Linked DNA regions of Homo sapiens: all the other regions are linked to region 7. The links are contacts of gene promoters, found by promoter capture Hi-C in blood cells and fetal thymus (Javierre and others, 2016). All regions are on one chromosome and are shown on one strand. The core of a region is centred on a gene start or on the middle of the fragment in contact, and the rest is flanking DNA. Distances in the headings are between cores, read along the strand shown. Region 1 overlaps DYNC1I2 (dynein cytoplasmic 1 intermediate chain 2). Region 2 has its middle 71 kb from the start of CYBRD1. Region 3 overlaps SLC25A12 (solute carrier family 25 member 12). Region 4 overlaps SLC25A12 (solute carrier family 25 member 12). Region 5 has its middle 40 kb from the start of CYBRD1. Region 6 has its middle 18 kb from the start of DYNC1I2. Region 7 holds the start of ITGA6-AS1 (ITGA6 and PDK1 antisense RNA 1).

Evidence for each region. Contacts are between HindIII fragments. The CHiCAGO score rates a contact against its expected background, and 5 or more counts as called.
Region 1: a fragment that was not itself captured here is called in contact with the fragment with the promoter of ITGA6-AS1 in region 7 in 11 of 17 cell types (total CD4 T cells, fetal thymus, naive B cells and 8 more); the score reaches 11.2 in total CD4 T cells.
Region 2: a contact is called between a fragment that was not itself captured here and the fragment with the promoter of ITGA6-AS1 in region 7, in 4 of 17 cell types (total B cells, naive B cells, neutrophils and 1 more). The highest score is 12.2, in total B cells.
Region 3: a contact is called between a fragment that was not itself captured here and the fragment with the promoter of ITGA6-AS1 in region 7, in 1 of 17 cell types (activated CD4 T cells). The highest score is 5.0, in activated CD4 T cells.
Region 4: a contact is called between a fragment that was not itself captured here and the fragment with the promoter of ITGA6-AS1 in region 7, in 2 of 17 cell types (activated CD4 T cells and naive CD4 T cells). The highest score is 7.0, in activated CD4 T cells.
Region 5: a fragment that was not itself captured here is called in contact with the fragment with the promoter of ITGA6-AS1 in region 7 in 1 of 17 cell types (total B cells); the score reaches 6.0 in total B cells.
Region 6: a fragment that was not itself captured here is called in contact with the fragment with the promoter of ITGA6-AS1 in region 7 in 2 of 17 cell types (total B cells and erythroblasts); the score reaches 9.1 in total B cells.

The regions. Positions count from the first base shown.
Region 1 is chr2:171,719,463-171,723,108 of GRCh38, reverse strand. The region is part of intron 7 of DYNC1I2 (dynein cytoplasmic 1 intermediate chain 2); the gene reads right to left. Among named protein-coding and RNA genes, the nearest start is that of DYNC1I2, 34 kb to the right of the region's middle. The HindIII fragment of the contact is 2,937 bases long and covers 271-3,207 here.
Region 2 is chr2:171,591,159-171,594,805 of GRCh38, reverse strand. No RefSeq gene overlaps it. Among named protein-coding and RNA genes, the nearest start is that of CYBRD1, 71 kb to the right of the region's middle. The HindIII fragment of the contact is 7,737 bases long and covers 1-3,647 here.
Region 3 is chr2:171,822,591-171,826,366 of GRCh38, reverse strand. All of the region lies in intron 9 of SLC25A12 (solute carrier family 25 member 12), which reads left to right. Among named protein-coding and RNA genes, the nearest start is that of SLC25A12, 70 kb to the left of the region's middle. The HindIII fragment of the contact is 858 bases long and covers 1,165-2,022 here.
Region 4 is chr2:171,796,697-171,800,714 of GRCh38, reverse strand. All of the region lies in intron 13 of SLC25A12 (solute carrier family 25 member 12), which reads left to right. Among named protein-coding and RNA genes, the nearest start is that of SLC25A12, 96 kb to the left of the region's middle. RefSeq lists an enhancer at 2,026-2,556. The HindIII fragment of the contact is 1,734 bases long and covers 1,274-3,007 here.
Region 5 is chr2:171,560,497-171,563,948 of GRCh38, reverse strand. No RefSeq gene overlaps it. Among named protein-coding and RNA genes, the nearest start is that of CYBRD1, 40 kb to the right of the region's middle. The HindIII fragment of the contact is 933 bases long and covers 1,158-2,090 here.
Region 6 is chr2:171,667,672-171,671,394 of GRCh38, reverse strand. No RefSeq gene overlaps it. Among named protein-coding and RNA genes, the nearest start is that of DYNC1I2, 18 kb to the left of the region's middle. The HindIII fragment of the contact is 942 bases long and covers 1,637-2,578 here.
Region 7 is chr2:172,463,781-172,467,276 of GRCh38, reverse strand. It overlaps ITGA6-AS1 (ITGA6 and PDK1 antisense RNA 1), which reads left to right and starts at 1,255. Exons shown (of 2, transcript NR_157573.1): 1 at 1,255-1,453; 2 at 2,703-3,015. ITGA6 (integrin subunit alpha 6) reads right to left here. Exons shown (of 26, transcript NM_000210.4): 2 at 1,614-1,738. It overlaps PDK1-AS1 (PDK1 and ITGA6 antisense RNA 1), which reads left to right. Exons shown (of 4, transcript NR_199657.1): 4 at 2,703-3,011. RefSeq lists an enhancer at 845-1,014. The HindIII fragment of the contact is 13,641 bases long and covers 1-3,496 here.

The DNA.
Region 1 (3,646 bases), core at 490-2,989, 740 kb after region 7:
TTTAACAGAAAAGATCTTGTTTATAGACACTCTTTTCCTTTTAAAATTTAAAATGTAGATGAAATATGTCAGACAGTGATCTATATCTGTGTACTATACAGCATTTGCCATGCCTATTTGTCCATATAAATTATTTCAGTTGTAGCTGAATCATGAGTATCAACTATTTAAATACATGCTCTCAGGGTTTTATTTTAGAATTAAAGTACATACCCTCCCTTTCTACATGGATTAAAACCAGACTTTAAAACTATCATTGGTACTTAAGCTTCATAAAAATGATTAAATAAATTTCAAGGAACATAAAAACAAATGATAATGCTGTTCTTAAAAACTGTAAAATGCAATCTTTTTGCTATAAGGTTGATCTTAAATAATTATCAAATTTACCAAATATTTGGCAAAAATGCCTAACATCAATAACATCAGATTAAAAAATGTTCTTCTGAAACAAATATGCTTTTCTTGTTATAAGCTAATATGATAGCTACCAAAGGACTATTAACGTGGCCAAAAATATAAAATTACAGTTCTGAAGATTTTCTAAGCTAGTCCTTATTACATGATAAGCTATATTTAAAACTGGAAAAGACTGTAACAGAGCAGGAAGACTGAAAAATGGGGCTGCCATGTCACATCAATTTATTGATGAATATTCATTACAATATGCTAAAGTGGTTAACTCCACGCTTTCTCTGACAAGGAATCTAAGGTTATAAACTGAGCAGTAAAGAGTGCATAAAAGTAGCAGTTACTTTTAAAATGACAAATCTCTTGTCAATGAATGCTAAAACTAGGTTTAATGAACCACTGAATTTTTACTTTGAGTTAACATCAAAATTGTGATGTATTTTGGTGAGACAGAAAGAAAAGCTGTTTTGTAAATTAAGCTGCACCTACAAGTAACACGAAAGAATGAAATTCCAGTTGTTGGAATAATCTCTTACAATGGAGTAAGTTAATCAAAGTTAAATCATCTGTGAAATGGGTGGCTTTTGTTAAACTGAAGGAAGGAGACTTCAGAGCAAGTTTTCTCATCTGTACCTCACAGTACATTTAAGATACATTTTACATTTAAGATACATTTAAGATAAGCTAAGAGTATGCCACAAAGCATACTCTGAATTATTTTAAAATATTACAAGACATTTAAAAGGTAATATACAGTATCTTAGAAAATCCTTACTGAACAAACATTGCTACTTATGAATCTATCACTTTTAATGATTAAATCTCAATATGAAGTGAAAAACAAATCCCATCATTAGTGCACTGTTGTTTAGGAAATATGTTTGTTGTCTATCAATTTACTATGTAGTTTTATTGTACTGGTGCATCCCATTTTAAGATAACTTAATATCCTATGAAAAATCCCTAACTTACAAGGTAGTCTGGTTATTCCTGGTATAAAGGAAGCTGACACTGAGTTCTAAAAGTCAGGACATTTGCTGCATATAAAAATATGATTTGACTTATAAAAATTCAACTTATGAATAACTTCACAAACAGCTATGAAAATATTAGAGGAAAATGCTTTAATCATTAGTTTAAAAATACAGATTACATAGGAATGATTTTCCTTTAATATTTTCAAAAAATCCCTTCTTTTCTGGGTCAGCTTCATTTTGAATCACTCTATTTCAATCCATTTGTCCATCACTTCATCTTCTTATACCTTACTCTTTAAAATCAGATGCATATTAAAGAGAATCTTCATTGGGACAAAGTTTCATGAATCTATCAATGGAATCCATTCCCTTTCTTTTTTTACACCATCTAGAATAAGATGCAAGGTCACTTGGGTTTCTTTGGCTCTTCAACAAGGGAAAAATACACAGCTGACTTTTTAATCATTAATGATTTCAATACAGATGTAATGCTAACTTGGGGGGAAAATAAGAAAAGACTAATAGTTTAATTATACCACTTCCTTTAACACAAAATTTGTCTCTCTGTAGTTCTTTTTTTTTTTTTTTTTTTTTTTTTTAAGAGATGGGGTCTTGCTATGTGCCTAGGCTGGCCTCAAACTCCTGGGCTCTAGTGATCCTCCTGTCTCAGCCTCCTGAGTACCTGGGACTACAGGTGCACACCACCTTGACCAGTCACAGTCCTTTTTATATAAAATTTGGGTTTTATTTTCGCAGTATTAGCACCCTTACATAGGTCTTGTTATCTGTGATTTCATCAAATATTATATTTTTCTGAGGCCAGGGTTTCAGATATGCTGATTAGTCTTTCAATCAAGATTAAGAACAAATGCTTCAATTTTCAATTTTGTTTATATTCTTATAGGTCCTCTGAGGGTTAAAACTAATTTATTAAATGTGTTATTCATTCCAAAATCTTTTAAAAATCCATTTTATTTAATTAATTTATTTGAGACATAGTCTCACTCTGTCGCCCTGGCTTGAGTGCAATGGCACAATCGTGGCTCAATGCAACCTCTGCCTCCTGGGTTCAAGCAATTCTGCCTCAGCCTCCCAAGTAGTTGGGATTACAAGTATGTGACAACACACCTGGCTAATTTTTGTATTTTCAGTACAGATGGGGTTTCACCATGTTGGCCAAGCTGGTCTCAAACTTCTGACCTCTGGTGATCTGCCCCACCTCGGCCTCCCAAAGTGCTAGGATTACAGAAAAATCCATTTTAGATAAGGTAGATGTATTAACCAGAAGGCATACAAATTTGGTCTTCTGGGAGTGAATTCCAAATGTTAAGATCATGCAATAAGTGATTACAAGATAATCACATATATTAATATTCTACACACAATAAAGCTAATCAACAGGTATTGAAGAAAACATATCTGGCTACTAAGCCAATACCAACAGTAATTATAAACTCCTTCACAGATAAGAAAGTGGAATGGAATAAGAAAAATGGTACTTCACTAGAAATCAAGTGCCAGTTTCTGGATGTATGCCCGATATTCTCTCAGACGGTGGACTTAGACTCACCAAGTAATCTCCTTGAACCTCAGTTTCCTCAGAGTAAACAAGCTGATTAGATTAGGTAACCTTCAGGATTTCTTTTTCCTTTAATAATCTTTCAAAAAATAGCCAAAAAAAAAAAAAAATCCATACAGAAGAAGTGAATAAGAAAAAATAATGCCATTTTTTCAAAAGAGTTAAAACTTTTAAAAAGGTAAAGAAAGTAACTTTTCCAGGAGTGTATCTGTGGGCACCACATTCTTGCCAAGAGAAGCTTTTCACCTGCTGAGAAGAAAATCGACTGAAGTCACGTGGTGCTAGTCAATTTCATTCACAGTAGGCGCTTTAAGACAGCAAAGCACCACAGTTCAGAAACAGTACTACCAACTTACAGAGTAAACTGGAAAGCAAGAAGGTGGCCAGAAGAGTGAAAAAGAAAAAACAAGGCAGAATAAAAACTGCTTTTTTAAAGGAATAGGCTTGGCCATTTTTATTTAAAAAAAGAATACAAAAGAAAGGTAAGAGTTAAGTCTACGACCAATTTTTACCTTCAATTTGGTAAGTCACGGATTTCTGTAGGCATGGATTTTACTGCCTACAGAAGTTTAATTTGCTGTCTGTTACACTCCAACTGTGATTTCACCAATTTTGTTTCATGGTGAGTTCTGGAATTCATTACATAATTCTTAAATGGGAACCAACCAGGCAAAGTTTG
Region 2 (3,647 bases), core at 1,142-3,641, 870 kb after region 7:
CCACGTGTTCTCATCATTCAACTCCCACTTATAAGTGAGAACATGTGGTTTTTGGTTTTCTGTTCCTGTGTTAGTTTGCTAAGAATAATAGCCTCCAGCTCCATCCATGTTCCTGCAAAAGACATTTTTTATGGCTGTGTAGTATTCCATGGTATATATGGACCACATTTTCTTTATCCAATTGGATGCAGCACTTTCTTTCTTTCTTTCTTTTTTTTTTTTTTTTTTTTGAGACAGAATCTCGCTCTGTCACTAAGGCTGGACTGCAGTGGCATGATCTCGGCTCACTGCAAGCTCCGCCTCCCGGGTTCAAGCAATTCTCCCTGCCTCAGCCTCCCAAGTAGCTGGGATTACAGGCACCCACCACCACGCCTGGCTAATTTTTGTATTATTTAGTAGAGATGGGATTTTACCATGTTGGCCAGGCTGGTCCTGTACTCCTGACCTCAGGTGATCCACCCGCCTCAGCCTCCCAAAGTGCTGGGATCACAAGCGTGAGCCACCGTGCCTGGCAATGCAGCACTTTTCTATGAAACCTGTGCTCTCCCCAACTGCAACACTGGGGATTGGGCACAGCCTTTCTGTCTGGGTCATCACTTCCATGAGTCTTTTCAAAAGATGTGCTTTACTGTTTCTTCATTTTCTAGTTCATTATTTTTTTCCCTTATGATTCCCATCCTTCCACTTTCTTTAGGTTTATCCTATTGTTCTGTTCCTATTAGCTAAATATTTGGATGCTCTTTTAACGACATATTTGACTTAGATTTATTGGTGGGTAGGTAATACAGATGGTGTAAATTCTGGCTTAAACACTTGTGATAACAAACTTGTGGTTAGCATTCTCCAAGTATTCTTTCCCATTTATAATTTTCATTTCGGTCTAGAGATGATTGGTAAGTTTTTCTACATCTCTGTCTCTCGGGCACCCCCCACACTTCTGTTCAACCCTTTTGAACATACCTAGAGTAATATTTCTGGGATTCTGGCTTCACGTGATGTTTTCTAGTCCATCCTCTTGGCTTTCACAGGCCTCGTGTTTTTGTCTATCCTCCCCCGCAGGTGCCACCGAAGACAGTCAGATAGGCTGTCATGGCAAACACCAGCTTTAGAGAGGTTAAGTCTCTGGATTTTTACTTTCTTTTTTGTTTGTTTGTTTTGAGATGGAGTCTCGCTCTGTCGCCCAGGCTGGAGTGCAGTGGCACAATCTCGGCTTACTGCAACCTCCACCTCCCAGGTTCAAGCAATCCTCCTGCCTCAGCCTCCCAAGTAGCTGGGACTACAGGCGTGTGGCACCACGCCCAGCTAATTTTTTGTATTTTTAGTAGAGACGGGGTTTCGCCATGTTGGCCAGGATAGTCTTGATCTCTTGACCTCGTGATCTGCCCACCTCGGCCTCCCAAAGTGCTGGGATTACAAGCGTGAGCCACCGAGCCTGGCCTGGATTTTTACCTTCTTATTATCTATGGCAAGGATCTTCCTTTTTTCCCCCCAAGAGTTCAGACAAGTATTTTCTAGAAAGTTTAAAAATATATTTTATCCAGAATTTTAGTTCCATACCAGAAGACTTTTTCCGGACATCTAGTCTTTCAAACAACCAAAAATGGAAGTCATCATTTTTATAATATAAACACTGTTTTTTTCTACACTTTCCAAGTGGAAGATTTATTTTGGTTTTAAGGGCTTTCTTATTTTTAATATCAGTATTTAAATTATAAATTTCCCTCTGACTACCACTTTACCCTGTATTAATGATCAAGATAAAATTTTATTACTAGGTACAATGCAATATAATACTCTTTATTCTTGTTTCATTAATCTTCACAAAACCCAATGAGATGTATATGATTATTCTTCACTTTATCAATGAGGAAATTGAAGTGAAGGAAAATTAAATAATTTCCCCTAGGATCCTGGAGACAGTAGCATGCAGGGAAGCTGGGATTCCAACCAGGGTCTGGCTGAGTTCAAAATGGGGTCTTGCAACTCGTTCAATGGTTTTATGAGAAAAGAAAAACAGGATATTTAAGGTGAGAGTAAAAAGGAAAAACTGACATTAGATTTTAGGGTGTTCGTGTCAAAGTTACCTCACGGTTGGAAGTAAGGGAGAGAAAAGGATGCAGGTTATTATGGGGATGATAGCTGTCCAACCCAAGCCCAGAGAATATGGGGCAACCTGAGAATGTGTGGCAAAGCAGGAACAGGTGTGCACAGACACCTTCTGCGTTCATCCTGGGTAGACACAGTGGCAGAAACTCACCTTTCCCTGCCTAGTTCAAATTATTAACTGTGCTTTCTTGGCAATATCAATTTACCAAAAAAAAAAAAAAAACAAACAATGATTTTTAATCCGATGGCCATATGTGCAACGTATAGAACATCACTAATGAACACATATTTTTTAGCCCCAAATAAAATAGTCTTTGCTAATCCCAGACCTTGGCTCCAAGCCAGCTAGCTTCTTGCTTTCATTATTTGCAACAGAATCCAGAATTCAGAGTGAATAAAAGAGCCGAACAGGAATATAACTCCCGATAATATTGTCTCTGTGCCTTATGCACTTATCCTTTTTGTCTCTCCCCAGGGGAAAAGCAGTTATTCTTACTTATGCTAAATCCAGTTGTTCCCCACCGAGGTCATGTAAATCCTGGCACCGAGTATGCAGCAGAGTAAAGTCAAGGCAGTGGGAGGTGCTCACACAAGAGCAACAGGCGGCCCCAAAGCCCCAAACTGTTCCATCCATTTTCTCCTAAAAATAAAGGGTTCTATTCATAAAAAAACTTCATATATTCTTGTGATTTTTCTTACCAAAAAAAAGCCAACATGATATGCAGGCAAAGAATAACAACTCCTGGTTCACAAACCACGCCATCCTTTCATTTCCCAGAGTAAGCAAATAAACCAGGGAGAGGACATGCAGGAGAGTTAACTGTATTCAGCAGATAAAAAAACATCTTCTGCAAAAAGGGATCGGACCTCCAATTAGACCCCTAAGTGGTTCCATTTAAGGGAAACTGCCTCCTTTCTGCACATCCACTTAACAAAATGAATTACCCAAAGGCTAAATGTGAGAGATTTTATAACTTTATTTTAATGGGATTTCTAAATATCATAGATTTCATTTCTTTCCAGCAAAGAAGAATTGGTTACTTAGATTTTCCGAAGACTTAAAGATTATTTAGACCTTATTCTTCTATTCTCTCTCCTATTTTCAGTCTTTAAAAACTATCTTTCCATTGTAAATCCAAATTATTGTATGCTTTAGAATGCTTCCTCTACTGGGGATAACCTGCCCTTAAACTCTAGTAATCCCAGGCCCAACCTGACCCACCTGCCCTTGGCATCCCCAGTAGTTAAAGGATCAATATCTTGGGTTCACCTGTAATCCATATTTTGCATACCAGTATGCCTTGGCTCATCTGCTGGGAAGGTCTGTGCTAGGATTTATACTCAGGTGTGTTAATTATTGTATTAGTCCATTCTTATGCTGCTATGAAGAACTGCCCAAGATTGGGTAATTTATAAACGAAAAAAGATTTAATTGACTCACAACTCCTTATGGCTGGTGAGGCCTCAGGAAACTTATCATCATGGCAGAAGGGAAAGCAAACACATCCTTCTTCACATGGTGGCAGGAGAGAGAAGTGTGG
Region 3 (3,776 bases), core at 344-2,843, 640 kb after region 7:
CAAAGTGCTGGGATTACAGGCATGAGCCACCACACCCAGCCTATAGAATATTTTTATGAGATAACTAGATTTATATTTGTGTTTTGTTTTTTGTTTTGTTCAGATAAGGAAAATAAGAGTTCAAACATACATGGGTTTGACCCCGTTCCCCTTAGAATTAGCATTCTTTTCATTTGCCTCGTCACATTTAAAGATTAGTGTTAGGTTTACTTTGTATCATTAAACTGATATTTATAGGGTTTCTAAAATTAAAAAACTTCCCTCAAATTAAATAAATCATTCACTGGGATTGTGCCTTACAGATTACAGCCAGGAAAAAAAAAGTAATTAGTGAAACCAGAAAGAAAACCCTGACTGTTAATTACATTTTTGATAAATATTACTTTTGGTTTTTATAAATGTTAAGAATGATTAAAACAGTAGCTTCTGAGTCCTATAAAATTAATACAATCCCATTTCTGATTTTACAAATACTATCTTGGTAAGAAAAAGAAAATCCATGAAATTACCTTGAAGAGTGGAATGGAACAGTTTTTAATAAATCTCGTTTTAAGTTGAAACTTCCACTTCTATAGCACTTAGGAAGTTTCAGTGGTAGCAGATGATCACATTGCTTTTGTGTGTGGGTAAGGGTTAGGAGGGCCAGTCATTGTCCTCCTGGTACTTTCCTGCTCTAATAGACATGGAACCTGTGTTCCTCATAATTCTCTAGGAGAGTGTGATGCCATACTAGGCAAGGCGACGTGGGGAGGGCATGGATAAAGAAGACAGGATACAGAGAGAGAGAGAGAGAGAGACAGTTACTAAATGTGCATGCTATAGAAAGAGGCTATGTCTGCTCTTTCTTCATTGCTGCCACATTGGTGAGTAGCCAGGGTTGGCTTGCTGTTATTGTTCACCTTCACCAAATGTGTTAATGAAACATCAAGATATGTTTAAGTGTAGTTCGCTTTGGGAAGACTTGGTTAGGAAACCTTTCTTCTACTTGAGCTCCATGGAATGATGATTCTGCCTGTGAAACTAATTAGAATTTACAGTTCTACTTTACATAAGGAACAAGAACATTTTGTAGTCAGGTTGAAGTAAATTGAAAATGGAAAAGAAACCATTATATCTGCATTTTGTATTAATACTTTAACTGTTTGCTTGATGTGTAATAAAGCTTCCTACAGATTAAAATATGTTGTAACTCATTGCAATTTAGCTTCTTTTGTATCAGAAAAACTCTTTTATCTGCTGCCATCAAAGTTTATTTCCAGGCTGGGTACAGTGGCTTATGCCTGTAATGCCAGCAATTTGGGAGCCTGAGGCAGGCAGATTGCTTGAGCCCAGAAGTTCCAGACCAGCCTGGGCAACATGGCAAAACCCCATCTCTACAAAAAAAAAATGCAAAAAATTAGCCAGGCGTGATGGCGTGTGCCTGTAGTCCTAGCTACTTGGGAGGCTGAGGAGGGAGAATCACCTGAGCCCAGGAAGTTGAGGTTGCAGTGAGCGTGACTGTGCTACTACACTCCAGCTTGGGCAACAGAGTGAGACTCTGTCTTAAAAAAAAAAAGAAAAAAGTTTATTTCCATTAGGAGGTCTCAGATCCTTTAAAAATAGATGGATTTATTTCAATTCAGTGATTTTAAAAAAATAAAATTTTATAAAATTATGTTTAATAAAAGGAAAGAATGTGAAAAATTTTTAATAAAATTAAGAGACATTGAAATATTTAAAGAGCTCTTACTGAATTTAATTTTATTTTTTGTAGCCTATACATCTGTGAAAATTTGCTCTTGAATTTTGAAAAATTGCATTTCAAAAGAAGATATTTTGCAGTGTTGCATGTGTCTATTGATATAGCTCTCCCTGGAGGTTTCCTTAATATTTGTAATTGGGGAATATTTCATTTAGCTTATTAAAAACATTGAATTTAAAAGTCTCAACTCATTTCTCCTCCTCAGTTTTTCTGCTGCTTACTTTTCTATTCACCCACCTCTCTTGCCCCTAGCAATTTTCCTAGAGGCCATATCTGAAGCTTGTTTTGCAATCTTTGGCACCCTGAGTCTGCATCCTTCACATTTCTTCATCCTTAGGAAAGTGATGTAATTTTGCTACTGCTGTGAATTCTTTTTAAGACAGATTCAAGATGATTTGCCTGTCTTCAGTGGCAGCGCTGATGCTTTTATGCTGGGATGGGTGGCCTCAAGGGTCTTTTCAGATATTTAGGAAATGGGCAGTGATAAAAACCACCATTTTCTTCTTCCCTGGGTCTCTGATTGGTATCCAGAGTGATGGGGAGTGCTTTCTCTGCCTTTCCTTAACCAGTGAGATAGTACAGGGATCTAGAATTTCTGGAGAGCTGGTAGAAGTCTTAGGTATTCTTACATTGTCCCCAAAGGAAGAACCTCAGAGTCTCAGGACAATTTTTTTTTTTTTTTGTGGAGACAGGGTCTCACTCTGTCAGCCAGGCACAATCACTGTTCACTGCAGTCCTGACCTCCCCGGCTCAGGTGATCCTTCCACCTCAGCCTCCTGAATAGCTGGGACTGTAGGCATACACCACCATGCTCAGCTAATTTGTTTTCAGTAGAGACAGGGTTAAGCCATGTTTCCCAGGCTGGTCTCAAACTCCTAAGCTTACATTAATCCACTGATCTTGGCCTCCCAAAGTGCTGGGATTACAGTGTGTGTGAGCCACTGCACTCAGCTAAAATGTTTGATGTTTCCTCTCACATAGAAGATAGTCTTTCTACTGAGGATTAGGTACAGAGAAATAAAAATTAAGGTCTTAAGTGTATATTTTCCTGTACATTATTATAGGAACAAAATCTGAGAAAATAGAACTCAACAGAAATAATAAATAATTATTAGAATTTTATAGAAACAGATTTGTGAAGGTTAAGGATTCAGATTAATGTCCACTAATGGCCATTGTGAAATCTGATCTTTACTGTCCTTGAGATTTGATACAAGTTTATTTGGGACTCAGTTTTCCCTTTAATAAAGTGAGTATCTTCATGTATTTCTGAGAAGCCTTCAAGCTCCTGCATTCTGTAGAATGGTATGTATCAATGGATTTTATTTTCAGAATTCTAAATTTATCCTCCTTTTTCCTTTGTAACATTTAAAATTTTATAAGGAATACAGGCTGGACTCAAGTAGAATAATATGAAAATATGCTTAAGTTCTTATAGCAACCAAAGTAATGGAATAAACTTTCTTCAATTTTCAGCCTTGAAAAAACATTCCTCAGTTAACATATTTCAGGTTTATGAGGCATTGTAAGGCAGCCATATAGACTACAATCCTAGTGACTCAGTTTTTAACATTCTTTAGTTCACAGAATTTCAGTAATGCTAACCTTAACTATTCCCATGTTACTTCCAGAAGATATCTTGATTTGATTCTCTTGTAATTTTTCCTATATTGCCAAATTAGAAGTACATAATTACTTACATTTATTATGCAGAGTATTCCCTTATATGAATCTATTAGAAACCTAAATATAAAATAGGAAGAAGGATATATGTCTTGTTATCTCACCTTATGAAAGTTGTTATGAAAACACTTGTTTATGATGGAGAATCTGTGAGTCCAGAACTAGAAGTTATGAGGGAGAGAGTAGTTAAGAGCCTGGCCACTGATTATGTAACATCCTCTCATTCTGTTTCCTCATTTATTAAATAGGGACAGTATGCCAGGCACAGTGGCTTGTGCCTGTAATTCCAGCACTTTGAGAGGCCAAGGCGGGCAGGTTGTTTTGAGCCCAGGAGTTTGAGACCAGCCTGGGC
Region 4 (4,018 bases), core at 891-3,390, 670 kb after region 7:
ATGGATGTTTGGGTTTTTGTCTGTTACAAATAAGGTTGCTGTAAACATTCTTGTACAAATCTTTTTGTCAACCAATATTTTCATTTTTCTTGGGTATCTAAGAATAGAATAGAGTCGATGTATATTCAATTTAAAATAAACTGCCAGTTAGTTCTTAGAAGTGGATGGATCATTTTATAGTCTCCTAAGCAGTGTACAAGTATTCCAGTTGTTCCACATCTTCACTAATGTTTGATATCTGTAGTGTTTTTGATAGTAATCATTGTAGGTATGTGAAATAGTATCTTATTGTGGTTTAAATTTGCATTCTTCTGATTCCTAAAGATGTTGATTATCTTTTCATGTGTTTATTGGCTATTCGTATATGTGTGTGTGTGTGTGTGTGTGTGTGAAGTATCTGTTCAAGTCTTTTGCGTACATTTTATTAGGTTTCATATTTTTTACTAATTGTAAAAGTTGTTTATACATCATGGATACAGCCCTTTGTCAAACAGATGTGTTGTGGATATTTTTTTGCCAGTTTGTGACTTGTTTATTACTTTTATTAATGATGTTTATAGTAGTTTTTAAAGAAAAAGTAATTATGTAGTTTTTTGGATAGATCCAGAAACTTAAGGGAGAATAAATTTAAATATCTTTTCAAATTAACAAAGCAGAATATTAAAAAATCTAAATGGACTAACCTTTAGGTACTTTCTAATGGTCTCTTTGGTAAGTACCTGTTCTTTTTTAATTGTTAAACTCGAATCAGAGATTAGTGATAAACTTACCTAGCTGACTGCATTACCTCTTTCAGAGAGTATATACTCCTGAGTGGATGGAAGTCATGAAACTCAAAACTTATTACTCAGCAAAGTGCTAATGTTGCAGGTGAATTTTCACAACCCTATGCGAACACACTTTCTGGAGAACACGTTCTTTCCCTTTGTGTCTTGCTTTCAGTCTGCATAGTGCTCTCAAATGAGTTAGTAGTGCACAAGACCTCGGTGAGGCAGAGAGCATGGTTGTGGGAATGGAATGGTTATGCCGAATGCAAAATCTATGACGATCTAGGTCAGTAGTCTTCCAAACCTAGAATCTTTCAACTCTCCCATGCTTTTTCTCAGCTTAAGCATGTGTCTACACACACCACATACACACACCCTCCCTTCATATCGGTAAAGCAAAAAGCCCACATGTTAGGCGGAGCATTTACTAATCCTGGGGGCCAAGATCTGTAACTAGCCAGCTCCTTATGATGAAGAATTCTATGTCTTCCTCAGCAAGCCAAGCTTGTATATCTCTAAAGAGTAGTTTGGAAACAGCTCTTCCACCTCTCATCCCCAGGAATTAGTGTAGTCCAACTTTATGCCTACATACTTATGTGAACACATATAGATATGCATACAAGTTGAAAATCCTTATATATTTATGTCAAAAGTGGCTTATGATAGGTACACAGGGATTTTCATTCTTGCTGTCTTAGTTCATTTTGGCTGCTATTAAAAAATACCTTCGATGGAGTAATTTATAAACAACAGAAATTTATTGCTCACAATTCTGGAGGCTGGAAGTTCAAGATCAAGGTACCAGCAGATTCAGTGTCTGGTGAGGGAGGGCTTGCTCTCTGCTTCCAAGATGGCACCTTGCTGCTGTGTGCTTGCATGTACCTTGCTGCTGTGTGCTTGCATGTACCTTGCTGCTGTGTGCTTGCATGGTAGGAGAGACAAGGCAGCTCCCTTCAACCTCATTTATAAGGGCACTAATCCCATTCACTAGGGCAGAACCATCATGACTTAATCACCTCCCAAAAGGCCCTACTTCTTAATACTATAATGTTGGATATTAGTTCCAACATATGCATTGTGGGGAAACACCAATATTCGGATCATAGCACTTCCCTTACCCTAGTTAGGAGTATATGTAGTGTTAATTTGTAACACCCTCGCATATATCATCACTCAGCAATGAGCACATTGCATTTATTTCTTTTAAACTATCACTATCCTATTTTAGAAAGAACCATAGCATTTCCTATTGCTTTACAAAAATATGAACGGTTGGTGGTGTGCAAGGCTGAGTCACTGTCTGTTCCTGTTCCTCTTGAGTCAGTCCTAGTGACAGCTAGTTCTGTGACTTTTACTGTTTATCTGGTTATTTTATACGCACATACTGTGTTCATCTGGAGTTGATGTGACCTTAAATAAATTGAAGTTAGATTTTCATCAGTCTCGATAAGGGAAGACTTTATAATGAGTTGCTTAGATTGGATATTTTGTGGTTGGAGGGAAATCATTTCAATCTATAGGAGACAACAGATCAAAGAAGGAAATAAACAAAGGACTTGGCACAAGCAGGGCCCAGCCTCCAACCTCTTTGTGAACCTTGCCCCAGGGGTAGGATTGAGAGGGCAGAAGGTTGAATAGGCCTAATCCTGTATACAGCCCCTCGGCCTTTGGCACTGTGGAGGCATGGTGACATCTCAAAATTACATCCTTTTCCCCGCTAACTTTTGCTGTCAGCTTTAGTTGATTTTCTCATTAAAAAATTCATATGATATAAGATTAAATGGAAGTTTTTTATTCTTTCCATTTCTGTTATATATGGGTAACCCTCATTCAAAATGAGATTTGTTCTCTTTTATGTATCTTTTAAACTCAGTTCTAGAACAAAGAAATGACAACAGAATACTGAAAAATAGAAAGCATCTAAGTCTGTTTTAGTATTAATGTTTGTATCTCTTTTAAAAAATAGGCGGGAAATTTAAGCAATTAGAGAATTAGAAGCTAATTTTGGTGATTTCATGAGTGAAAAAAATTCAGCAAAGGTATGATATAGAGTGGTATGTTATCTAATGTAAGCATTAGTAACAGAAGCAGCAAGATGCCAAATTTAGCAATGTCCATTTACATTTATATAGCTGTGTATCATTGTGATTTAATTTAAAATTTTATATATCTTAGTGTCGATTATTTCAGGTCACTAGCTATATTTGATTAGGTTTTTTGATGTTCATATATAATAAGCTTTTTAAAAAACCTTGGGTCCACAGTAACTAACGCCAACCAGTTTAAAAAATATATTTGCCAAATTACCAAATTTACCATGAAGAAGAATATGCGAGAGAAGACTTAGTCTATAAAGAAGCCATTGTTTCTAAGACCAGGTCTGTTTCTTGTTGTTGTTGCGTAGTTAATACATTCATATGTTTTGAAATTTAAAAGGTACAATAGAGTATGCTATGAAAATTATTTCTCCCAGCTATTCAGTTTCTCTTTCCAGGAGGCAATCAATGTTTTAATCTTTAAGCCACTTGGGTTTTGAGAAACTTAGGTAAATTTTGACATATTTATGATCAAATGTGTGCCTAATATTTTATGTTCTGTTTTTGTCATTTGGCGTGATTTTATTATCAAATCATATTGCCCAATTAATAGCATAGAATTGTATCTACTTAGCTGTTTTATTGGGAATTTGAATTTCTTCCTGTTCAATTTTGCTGCTATTAAAAATAGCAAACATTAGCATATTTGTAGAAATACAGGTACTATTTTTTATTGAAAAGTTACTGTATTTATGAAATTCTCTATATTAAAGATTATATTTACTGCAAGCAGTGCTTTTCCCCTTTGGAAAGCTGTTATTAATGATATCATTTATAATCAATAGAGTCTTAGAAGAAATATGGTATTTCTCTGTATTTGTTTCGCAGAGAGGAAACACCCAGTTCAAGAGTTTGATAACATCATAGTCCCTCATTCTGAGTTGCTTGATTTATTACCAGTATAATTGAACTAATCTCAGATTTTACTCCCCCTTCCCTATCCCCAGTTTAATATGTAGGATAGAGAGAGTGGTCAACCTCAGAATCCGAAAAAGAACAGTGCATATTTGCCATGTGTGTTTCCCTTTAAGCATTATAAACATCCAGAGTTTTAGACAAATTATTACGTTGGTACAAAAGTAACTGCGGTTTTTGCAGTCTTTATCTTTGCTAAAATTATTCAGCGTTTCTGGAAAGTATTTGCCTTATGTTCCT
Region 5 (3,452 bases), core at 375-2,874, 900 kb after region 7:
CACATTCACATTTACAAACTCTTTTATATTCAATTTCTTTCACTTAATATTTTATGAACATATTTTCATATTGCTAATTATTCACTTGAACAATATAATTTTTGATGACATAGTTTTTGTATAGTGTAACTTTGTATTTGGCCATTCTTTATTAGACATTGTTTCCAAATACAAGAAATCTTTAAGATGATTTGCCACACAGATACAATCACTACAGTGGTGATTCTCAGTCTCTACTTGCACTCCATTCGCAATCCAGTGCTCTGTTAAATGAGACAGAGACAGAGAGAGAGAGAGAGAGAGTGAGAGGTTGAGAGAGAGAGAATGGAGGAAGGCTAGGCAAGGAGAGGCCTGAATCCTAATCATCACTCCACACTTTTCCACACCCTTGAGTTTTATTTGCACTTTTGCTTGCTCTTGGGGTGAATTAGCTCACACTTAAGGCTGTCACTGCTCCTCTTGCCTCACACCCTTTTACTTCCTTCATTTGAGTGTTCCAGGTGAGTTCACTGGGCCAGAACCTCCTACAATCTGCTCAAGACCTAGAGGTTTGAATGGGGAATGTGAGCGCTGATAGAGACAGGGAGCCAGGTCGTGGGTTGGGGAGGGCAAGGATGCTTCCTGCCCTCCTCCTTCATCACTAGTGGCTACTCTAGGGCCTGCCTGTGTGTGCCAGGGCTGAGCTAGGGCCTGGCCCCCTGGAGTTCTACAGAGTCCCTCTGGTACCTGAGCCACAAGAGAGGCACCTGTTCAGGAAATCTCATCAGAATCTAAACTTTAAGAGGAATCTCAGAACTTATCCATTTCAACATTCACCCAATGCTTATATTTCTCTTTTTCACCTTCATTCCACAAGAGAGAAATTTGTGACATGTCTCAGTCTAGCCTTAATGTGATAAGATTCATATAAATAGATATGAGAATATAGAAAACATTTATTTGGACTAGACTTCAGACTAAATTTCTGCCATAACATTCACCAAACTAAGGGATTGCTTATGTACAGTTCTGACCCTGAGGCTGACAACCAGATATTCTTCCCGTTGAAACAGAAAAACTCATACTATTCCACTCAGCCTAGAAATTTCCTAGTTATGTACCAGTAGATATTATACCAACCAGATTGCCAACTGTATTTGAAAGTCAATCAGAAAGCTTCTCCTTCCAAAATTCTCACCCTAATAGAACACTCACCAGCCAAATCCTGCATGAGCCGTCTTCCTTTCACTCTATAAACCTCACTCGCCTATCACGCCCCTTGAGTGGCTACCAGAAGGAAAGTGATCATAGCTAACTCACTCTAGTCAGATCTGAAAAAACAGGTTTCAGATAATTCTATAGACATTGTCTTTTTGACAAAACAAAAATGTATTCTTATGGATTGGTGATATAAATGAGCACTGCCCTGTGGGCTACCTCTGACATGAACAAAGGTCGGCAGACATGTGCTCCTGGACCGCTCCCGTATCGAGCATCCTCACCCACCCAAATTGGCCTGTCCTTAGAATGGCTGGCCTTACGGGTTGTGCCTCTGTAGTGAGTGAGGGGAACCCTTTTCAGTTTGTGCTCCCCACTCCTCTATTCTAGCTCCCTGAAGCCTGCATCCTATGAAGATGTATTCTCTTGGTTCCAAGACAGTTCTTCATACAGCCGATAATCATGGAAGAAAGTCCACATTCCTTTAAGAAGAGATGTGGACCCGGGGAATAAATGGTAAGGAGTTGTTTGAAATGCTTGTTCCCAGGTGCTGTAAAGAAATAGTACTTGAACATAAATTTAATTTATTTAGTAAGGCCATTTTTACTTCCTGCAGAAAGAGTACACTCACCAGAAGTTTTGCCCTTGGTGAGAAATGTATCCAGCCTATACCGGCTTATCCTCATTCCAAAACACTAAAGCAACTAACAGGGTTCCTTGGCATAACAGGCTTCTGCCGAATATGGATTCCCAGGTACGGCGAAATAGCCAGGTCATTATATACACTAATTAAGAAAACTCAGAAAGCCAATACCCATTTAGTAAGATGGACACCTGAAGCAGAAGTGGTTTTCCAGGCCCTAAAGGCCCTAACCAAGCCCCAGTGTTAAGCTTGCCAACAGGGCAAGACTTTTCCTTATATGCAACAGAAAAAAACAGGAATAGCTCTAGGAGTCCTTACACAGGTCCGAGGGACCAGCTTGCAACCCATGGCATACTTGAGTAAGGAAACTGATGCAGTGACAACGGGTTGGCCTCATTTTTTACTGGTAGTGGCAGCAGTAGCAGTCTTAGTATCTGAAGCAGTTAAAATGATACAGGGAAGAGATCTCACTGTGTGGAGACTTGTGGCTGTCAGACAACCATTTGCTTAAACATCAGGCTCTATTACTTGAGGGACCAGTGCTGCGACTGCACACTTGTGCAACTCTTAATCCAGCCACATTTCTTCCAGGCAATGAAGAAAAAAATAGAACATAACTGTCAACAAGTAATTGCTCAAACCTTCACCACTCGAGGGGACCTTCTAGAGATTCCCTTGACTGATCCTGGCCTCAACTTGTATACTGATGGAAGTTCCTTTGTAGAAAAAGGACTTCGAAAAGCGGGGTATGCAGTGGTCAGTGATAATGGAATACTTGAAAGTAATCCCCTCACTCCAGGAACTAGCGCTCAGCTGGCAGAACTAATAGCCCTCACTTGGGCACCAGAATTAGAAGAAGGAAAAAGGGTAAAAAGGAAAAAGGGTAAATATATATACAGACTCTAAGTATGCTTACCTAGTCCTCCATGCCCACACAGCAATATGGAGAGAAAGGGAATTCCTAACTTCCGAGGGAACACCTATCAAACATCAGGAAGCCATTAGGAGATTATTATTAGCTGTACAGAAACCTAAAGAGGTGGCAGTCTTACACTGTCGGGGTCATCGGAAGGGAACTGCCAAGTGGATATTGAAGCCAAAAGAGCCACAAGGTGGGACCCTCCATTAGAAATGCTTGTAGAAGGACCCCTAGTGTGGGGTAATCCCCTCTGTACTCAGCAGGAGAAATAGAATGGGGAACCTCACGGGGACATAGTTTCCTCCCCTCAGGATGGCTAGCCACCAAAGAAGGGAAAATACTTTTGCCTGCAGCTAACCAATGGAAATTACTTAAAACCCTTCACCAAACCTTTCACTTAGCCATTGATAGCACCCATCAGATGGCCAAATCATTATTTATGGGACCAGGCCTTTTCAAAACTATCAAGCAGATAGTCAGGGCCTGTGAAGTGTGCCAAAGAAATAATCTCCTGCACTGCAGGCCATACATTTCAATCCCTGTATCTTTAACCTCCTTGTTAAGTTTGTCTCTTCCAGAATCGAAGCTGTAAAACTACAAATCGTTCTTCAAATGGAGCCCCAGAAGCAGTCCATGACTAAGATCTACCGTGGACCCCTGGACCGGCCTGCTAGCCCATGCTCTGATGTTAAT
Region 6 (3,723 bases), core at 858-3,357, 800 kb after region 7:
AATGGCCAGCGTCTTTTTCACATTGCATCGCTCTGACGCTCTGACTTCCGCCTCCCACTCCCATATTTAGGGACCCTTGTGATTTCATTGACTGCACTAGTCATCATCATCAGCAGCAGCAGCAGCATCTTACATGCTGTAAGCTTCATATATGTCTCATATTTTTCTCTGTATTTCTCATAGCAACAAGAACAGTTCTAACTATGTGTTTTTGGTTGTTTCTTAAGCTAATGGAATAAGAGTTCTTAAAGGGCAGTCTGAAAAGCTCTGGTGATCTTTGACTTTCAGGTAGTATGCAAGTTGCATTAAAATTCCAAACAGAAAAATATGTAGCTTAAAAAACCCAAAAGAACATTTTTTAATATTATTACAAATTTGTAATATGTAAAAAAAGGAAATTTTAATGACATTGCTCAACAAAATAAGGGAGTACTCCAAGGAAGAAGACATGGGACCTGGAAAGAATTGTCTAGGCCAGGGCAGAAGGGAGTTCTTAGCATACAGCAGGTCTGGACACAAGCCAGATATGAGCCTGAGAATGCAGTGGAGACATGGCTAAAATGATTATAATGAAACTGCTAGACTACTTGGTATGTTCAAATGTACTGGAGGGATATTTATATGTCTTTCAGAGAGTTTAATGATGACTCATAGCAAATTAATCAAATAAAAATATGAGGAAATTATTATACCATAAAGAAAATGTATTTATAGTATACTATGTAGCTTAGCTCTGAATAATATTAACAAAATGATAATAATGTAAACATTGAATATTGGTTGAATGAAAATTATGCCAAAACTACATAAGAGGATGAAAAGAGAAAGAAGATGTACCAGGGGGTGAGGGATGTGGGGGCTGTATCTGGGTAAGAATCAAATTCTCATCTACCATAGTAGGAAGTCAGAAAAAAAAATCAAAATACTAGAAGAAACAGCTAAAAGTACAGATATTATTAGTGGGGAGGTTCAGGACAGGACCTTTCTATTGCTATTTGACTGTGTAAATGATATATGTGTGTTATTTTGGCAAAAATTACAATTAAGACAAAAATTTACCCGTATTTATTTTGAAAATAAAAAAGCAGGGATTATTTACAAAGGCAAAATCCCTGCAAGTGTTGTTTCTTTTCTTTCTTTCTTTTTTCTGCTTCTGGCAAGTAGTAGTTTCCAGAAACTTTTATTCTAACCCAAAGTGATTTTATTGTTGTTGTTCTTTGGTTCCAGAAGTTGAAAGACTTCAGTATGACTTAGCCAATTAATAAACACGACTAGCTGCAATGAGACAGGCCAGGTAAGGTCCTCGGACAGTGCCTGTACAAAATGATCAGGAAAAACTGTACTAGAAGTGGCCAGGTGTTTAGGAAGAATATTACCAGAGATAAAGATAATATTGAAAAGGAAACATTCTTGCTTATATTTCTGTCAAACTGAACTATTCCAAGTTTCCAAAATGTGTTGTATTTTCTTAGCTACCGATTCTTCATACGTACTTTATGAGGCAACTGTAATTAGTCCTGCCGCTCCTGGTATTACCTTTTTACCATACCTGTAGGAGGCTTTCCATACTTGATGGAGTTTTTAATAATTAACAGAATGACATATCTAGAGGAGATAATTTAGTTCAAATTAAGCTTGGGTAGAGCCTCTTACCTCTTTCCTGCTATCTTAGTTTTCCCTCTCCCTACCTTCCAGTCTAACTGTGATGAGCACATGGTCAGCCAATGACTTAAGGGACAGGGAGACAAGACACTTAAAATCAAAACTGTTTCAGGAATTCCAGCAAATATGGCTCTCAATTGTGTAGATTTCTTTTAACGTACCAAGGTTTGGGGCAAGATGATAAATTCACAGGTTATTTTTCTTCTATTTGTTTTCCCGGTTAAGAGGCCCCATTACTCATTACACATTTTCCCATGAAGTTGCACAGTTGGATTAGCTGATTCCAGAAAAAGGTGTCTGGATGCAGAAGGAGCTGCAGCAACCAGCCCCAAAAAGCCAGTCAAAGAATGGCTGGCTATTGATACAACCCGAGGCAAAGCAACTGTTTCTTCCCATGACTAAACAATGAGGATGACTCTGTTCTATTGCAGTGTATTCATTCAGACAATATTTATTGAGTATCCTAGTGCCTGGCACTGTTCTAGCTACTGGGGACACAGCTGCGAATACAGTGACACAATTCTGCCTAATTGTATCCTTTTCAGATTCAACCATGAAAATGAAGAAGAGTACAGTTGAATTTTTCACCCCCTAATCAAAGTCCAATCCAGATTTTGCCAATTCTTACTTGGCAGTATTTAACCAAAAGTTTCATAGGAATGAGGCTTTCTTATGAATTTGCAGTGTTCCCAGATTCTGATCCTTCAGGAAAAACAAACTTTATTTCTGCAGTACTTTGTCCTCTTCTGTGTGTTCCACTACCATGCCACCTCTCAGATAAAGAACTAAATTCCATGAAAAGCCACAACTACCTTGTAGTAGAAATCAGTCCCTAATGATATTACACTTGCACAAATTGAAATGGGGTTAAAAGCTCACATTGTGGAATCTTAGATTTCTTGCTAAGCTGGAAGCTTTTATGGGGCTCACTTTAAATTGAGAGGCAGAGTTTAGACCCTTTTGTTACTTAAGAGATTGAGCAAATTAGCAAGTCCAAGGCAAATCTTTTTAGATTACTGAACTATTACAAATGTCTCCTGGCCAAAGAATAACCTCTCTCCACAGAGAAATGTTCAGCAGGACCTTTTGCTTAAATTCGTAAAATCTGTTAAAGCAAATCTCTCACATTTCCATTAAGTCAGTAAATTACTTCTAGGGGAAAAAGATAAAATGCTGATGATAAAATGGCTGGACTATATTAATGATGGGAGGTGGGGCTGGAGAGGCGGAAGAATTGATGCCACATTTATGGTGCAGAGAATTTCAGCCTTTTTCACGTGTTGGGCTAAATGTAAATGATGTCACCTTCTCCTCCCTGAGTGAGAGGCAAAGTTATCAGGCCGCAGAGGCTTCACAGAACGCATTCTGTGGCTGACATTAAAATGACTACAAGGTTATTTCTTTCCATATCTATTCTCTTGGAATTTTTTCAAGATTTTATTGTAGATGGGAAAAATGCATAATGCTTACAGAAACAAAGCCCTAGCTACATTCTTGCTACTGGATTATTGTCATTCTATCTCGATGCTGATTGAAATCCAAGACTTTGTATCGAAGCCTTAATGAGATGCTGGCAAATATCTTTCTGCCCCACTGGAAATGTAATCTTTCTATTGAACATTTTGTACCAGTGAATTTCATCTGCAATAGCATTTTGCATTTGAATCAGAGAGGTCACTGCTTGAGAGCAGACCATGTGGTACTGGCTTAGTTCACTTTTGGGTGAAATTGATCCCTAAAGGTGTTGAAAGTATAGTAGTGAGTCATTATAGATAATTAGCTCATTGTTTCATTTAGATGATTAGAGACATAATACCAGTGTGCAATCTGTTATATTTCTAAATATCAGATTTTCCTATAAAAATGACCGGCCAAATCTTATGTTCACAATGCATCAAGTAGATTGAATTAGTATATTATCTTTTAATGTATCTTATTTATTTATGTTAGATTTACTTAGGGAGACTCATGCATGTCATAACAGTTGTCCCTAAAATGGTAAGATTTTTCTAGCTTTTTCTCAGTTTCGTGTGAATGAAGTAGTTTATGCTGTGAACATAA
Region 7 (3,496 bases), core at 6-2,505:
TAAAGTACTTAGCTCTATATAGTTGCCTATTTTGTCCAACAATACCCTTTGCCCTCTCTTGATACCTAGGGTCCTGAATGCAGAAGGTAAGTGAAACTGTAAGACTAAGGGAGCCCTCCAAAATACATCTCTTAAGGCAACAATGTAAAATCTAGTATTCCAAACTGCAGCTACCATCCAAACTAACAAAAAAAATGGGTACTTCTCTATATACTCCCCAATTTTTTTATTTAACAGCATTAAATGTTCTCTTCTTTACTGGAGATGGAAGAAAAAGACTCAGATTTACTTTAGGATCTTGTAGCTGACAATGTATCAATGCCAAACAGGAGAGTTACTGTTAGTCAGAGAGACGGGGACCACAAACACCACCAGGTGCTCATTTCAGTATCAATTTAAACCCACTGTGTGACCTATATCCAAATTTTGCACTCCTCCATAAGTAGCAATACAGACACAGGTTTTAATCTTGAATCATTACAAAAACATTAAACAACTTTAGACAGAAGGAAAAATGCCAAAATGTTAAAAAATAAGTCTAGATACTGAGATTGCCAGTGGGTTTTTTTATTCTTCATAGGTCTGTGTATTTTACCAGCTTCTTAAAATTAACACATATTAGTTTCTAATAAAAGAACACATGTTATTTCTTTTCTTGAGATGGTATCTTGCTCTGTCACCCAGGCTGGAGTGTAGTGGCACGATTTTGGCTCACTGCAGCCTCTGCCTCCCAGGTTCAAACAATTCTCACGCCTCAGCCTCCTAAGTAGCTAGGACTACAGGCGTACACCACCACGCCTGGCTAATTTTTGTATTTTTAGTAGAGATGGGGTTTCACCATGTTGGCCAGGCTGGTCTTGAACTCCTGACCTCAAATGATCCACCCAACTCGGCCTCCCAAAATGCTAGGATTACAGGTGTGAGCCACCGACGCCTGGCCAACAAATGTTATTTCTAAAAGATGAAGAAGCAAGAGAAGAACATAGACACGAATCTGCAAATCTACTTAGACCGAACATATCAAACGAGGTTTGGCTAGAGCTTCTCAGTACACTAATTGCTCTGCTCAACCTACAAGAAGCCAGGTACACTGGATGTCAACATGCCTACCTCATGGTATCTTCTACCTATCCAGAGCCCTTAACAAAACAAGTCTCTATCTGAGACAGGAGGGAAAACTTTATCTCTGTTAGCCAGCTCTCATTCCAAAGGGGTCTGATATTTAAAACTGTCTTTCTCCCAAATATTTTAACAGCATGTGAGAACTTTTGGCTGATGAATACAAGATACGCTCATTCATTCTCTTCATTGCTATGAAATGAGTTTTTCCACAACCTCCTGCAGAACCTCAACACATCACTAGGTGGCAACATCCCTACACCATATCGGTTTAGAAACCACGGTTAGGAGGAGCAGCAAAACACGCGGCATCCCAGTATGATTCAGAAGTAAAGTAAGTAAATATTTTCAGGGCAAATAAAAAACAGTCAAGTCTGATGCAATTAAAAGAAGTCCTCTCTACAAGAATAAATGTTTGTCCCCACTCTCCTCCCTCATGGAAACAGTACAGGCAAGCTGCCGGAGTGAACGCTGAGTGAGGGAAAGGAACGCACCATCGTTATCAAACTCGATCCGCGTGCATGGCCCCCGGGCGGTGATGTCGCAGCTGTACAGCCCTCCCGTTCTGTTGGCTCTCTGCAGTGGAAGCGCTTCTGCCCGCGGGGCCCCCACGAGCAACCTGTTGATGAAACAGAGACAATTTGGAGATTTGAATTTAATATACGTTTAACAGTTAAATCAGTCAGAACTAGGAGATAGTGGGATTATTCTTTGTCTAGGAGTCCACTAATTCTTCAACAGCTTAGGCAGTGAGTGAGAACAAATGTAGAGTCCTATGGCTGGTTCATGCAAAACGCACAAACACAACTAAACAGGGGAAGCCAAAGAGGGGATACCAAAACGAGGAAAATAGGCCTGTCTCTCATAGTATCAGCATTTCTTGCTGGGTATGATCTGGTGTTTAAAAGACACCCTCTTCAAAGAATACAACCTCTAAGCCCCTATGATGCCAGGGATATCATATGAAACTCAAGAGAAGAAACCAAATACTTGTGACAATGGAAGGAAAAAATGGCCACACTAAATGTAATAAGCAATAATATGTCAGTTTCTAACACTGTGCCTTCCTGAGGTAGTTTTCAAGGGTAATTCTGACTATATCTTAGATTTTCAGTTTATATACTAATTGAGAGAACCTAATGGTAAGTAAGATACAACTCGACTGAATTATTCACTTGCAGCCTTGGCCTCTTTCCAATTCTTTTTTTTTTTTCCCTCCAGTTTTATTAGGGTAGAATGGACAAATAAAAAGCAGATATATTTGAGGTGTACAAGTTGATGTTTGTTCTTCCAAGTCAGTTCTTACTTCCTTGCACTTTTGTCACATTACAAGAGTTCGTCCTCTCTCATCCTATCAGTCTCCCACAAAGGATTCAGGGACAACTGGTGTAGCTCCACTTATGTACTAGGCACTGTAATATTCCTTCTTCTCCCCAGCCGAGTGTTTTTATCTCCTATAAGGAGGCCCCCAGTCCAAATCCACAGTCCTTAAAATTTCACCATCTCACAGCTTGACAGGCTCTTTAGAGATCCAATGACCTTGTTGCTAGGTCTCTTTTGCTAACACCTTTACTCACCATCAGGTTTACAATCTTTGAGGCCTGGCTGACTCATGGAACAACTAGGACAAGAAACAAAGACAAAGAACACACACCTGACTGGACAGAGATAAACCAAGAGCTGAGAGTTTTGGAAACAAGGCTGGAGCTGAGGAAAAGGACTGGGAACACGAACCTGTACAAACAACAAATTCTTACAACAGAAAACAAGCCACTCCTGGCCATCAAGAAACCCACAAATCTCAGAAGCAAAAGCAAAACAAATGAAAATACAAACCAAATAGTCTCTATTACCTTCATGCCTGTTGGGTCCCAATAAAGGAATCATTCCAATAAAGGATTCAACATATTTTTTTTAAACCAATATCATGCAGCAGGTGCCACCGGAGGCAAGTGTACCTGGAAAGCAGGGAGGGGGGCCAGATGATGCCCAGACAGAGAAGGAGGGGTGGCTCATGGATAACACATAGCCCCAGCACTGTCCTTCCTCCCAGATCCCTGGACAGTCACAGTCAGCCCCCACCTCCAAACCCACCCTACATTTGAAGGAACAAAACAGCACACACCAAGGTACAGAACTGACACACAGACTTTTAAATTAGGAACTGGAGCAGTGTCCTTGGTGCCTGAACCTTCTTGACAGAGGACAGAGGCAAGGCCGGGGCCACAAGGGTCCCCACAGGTCTGCTCCACTCCTATTCCAGTGATGTCCCCGATCCCAGGAATGCCAACAAACAAGTACCTGGGAGGTGAACTGCCTAGACTATAAGGTGAATGTGTTAAATTACTGTACTTGGCAGATGTCAGAGGTGGAGTCA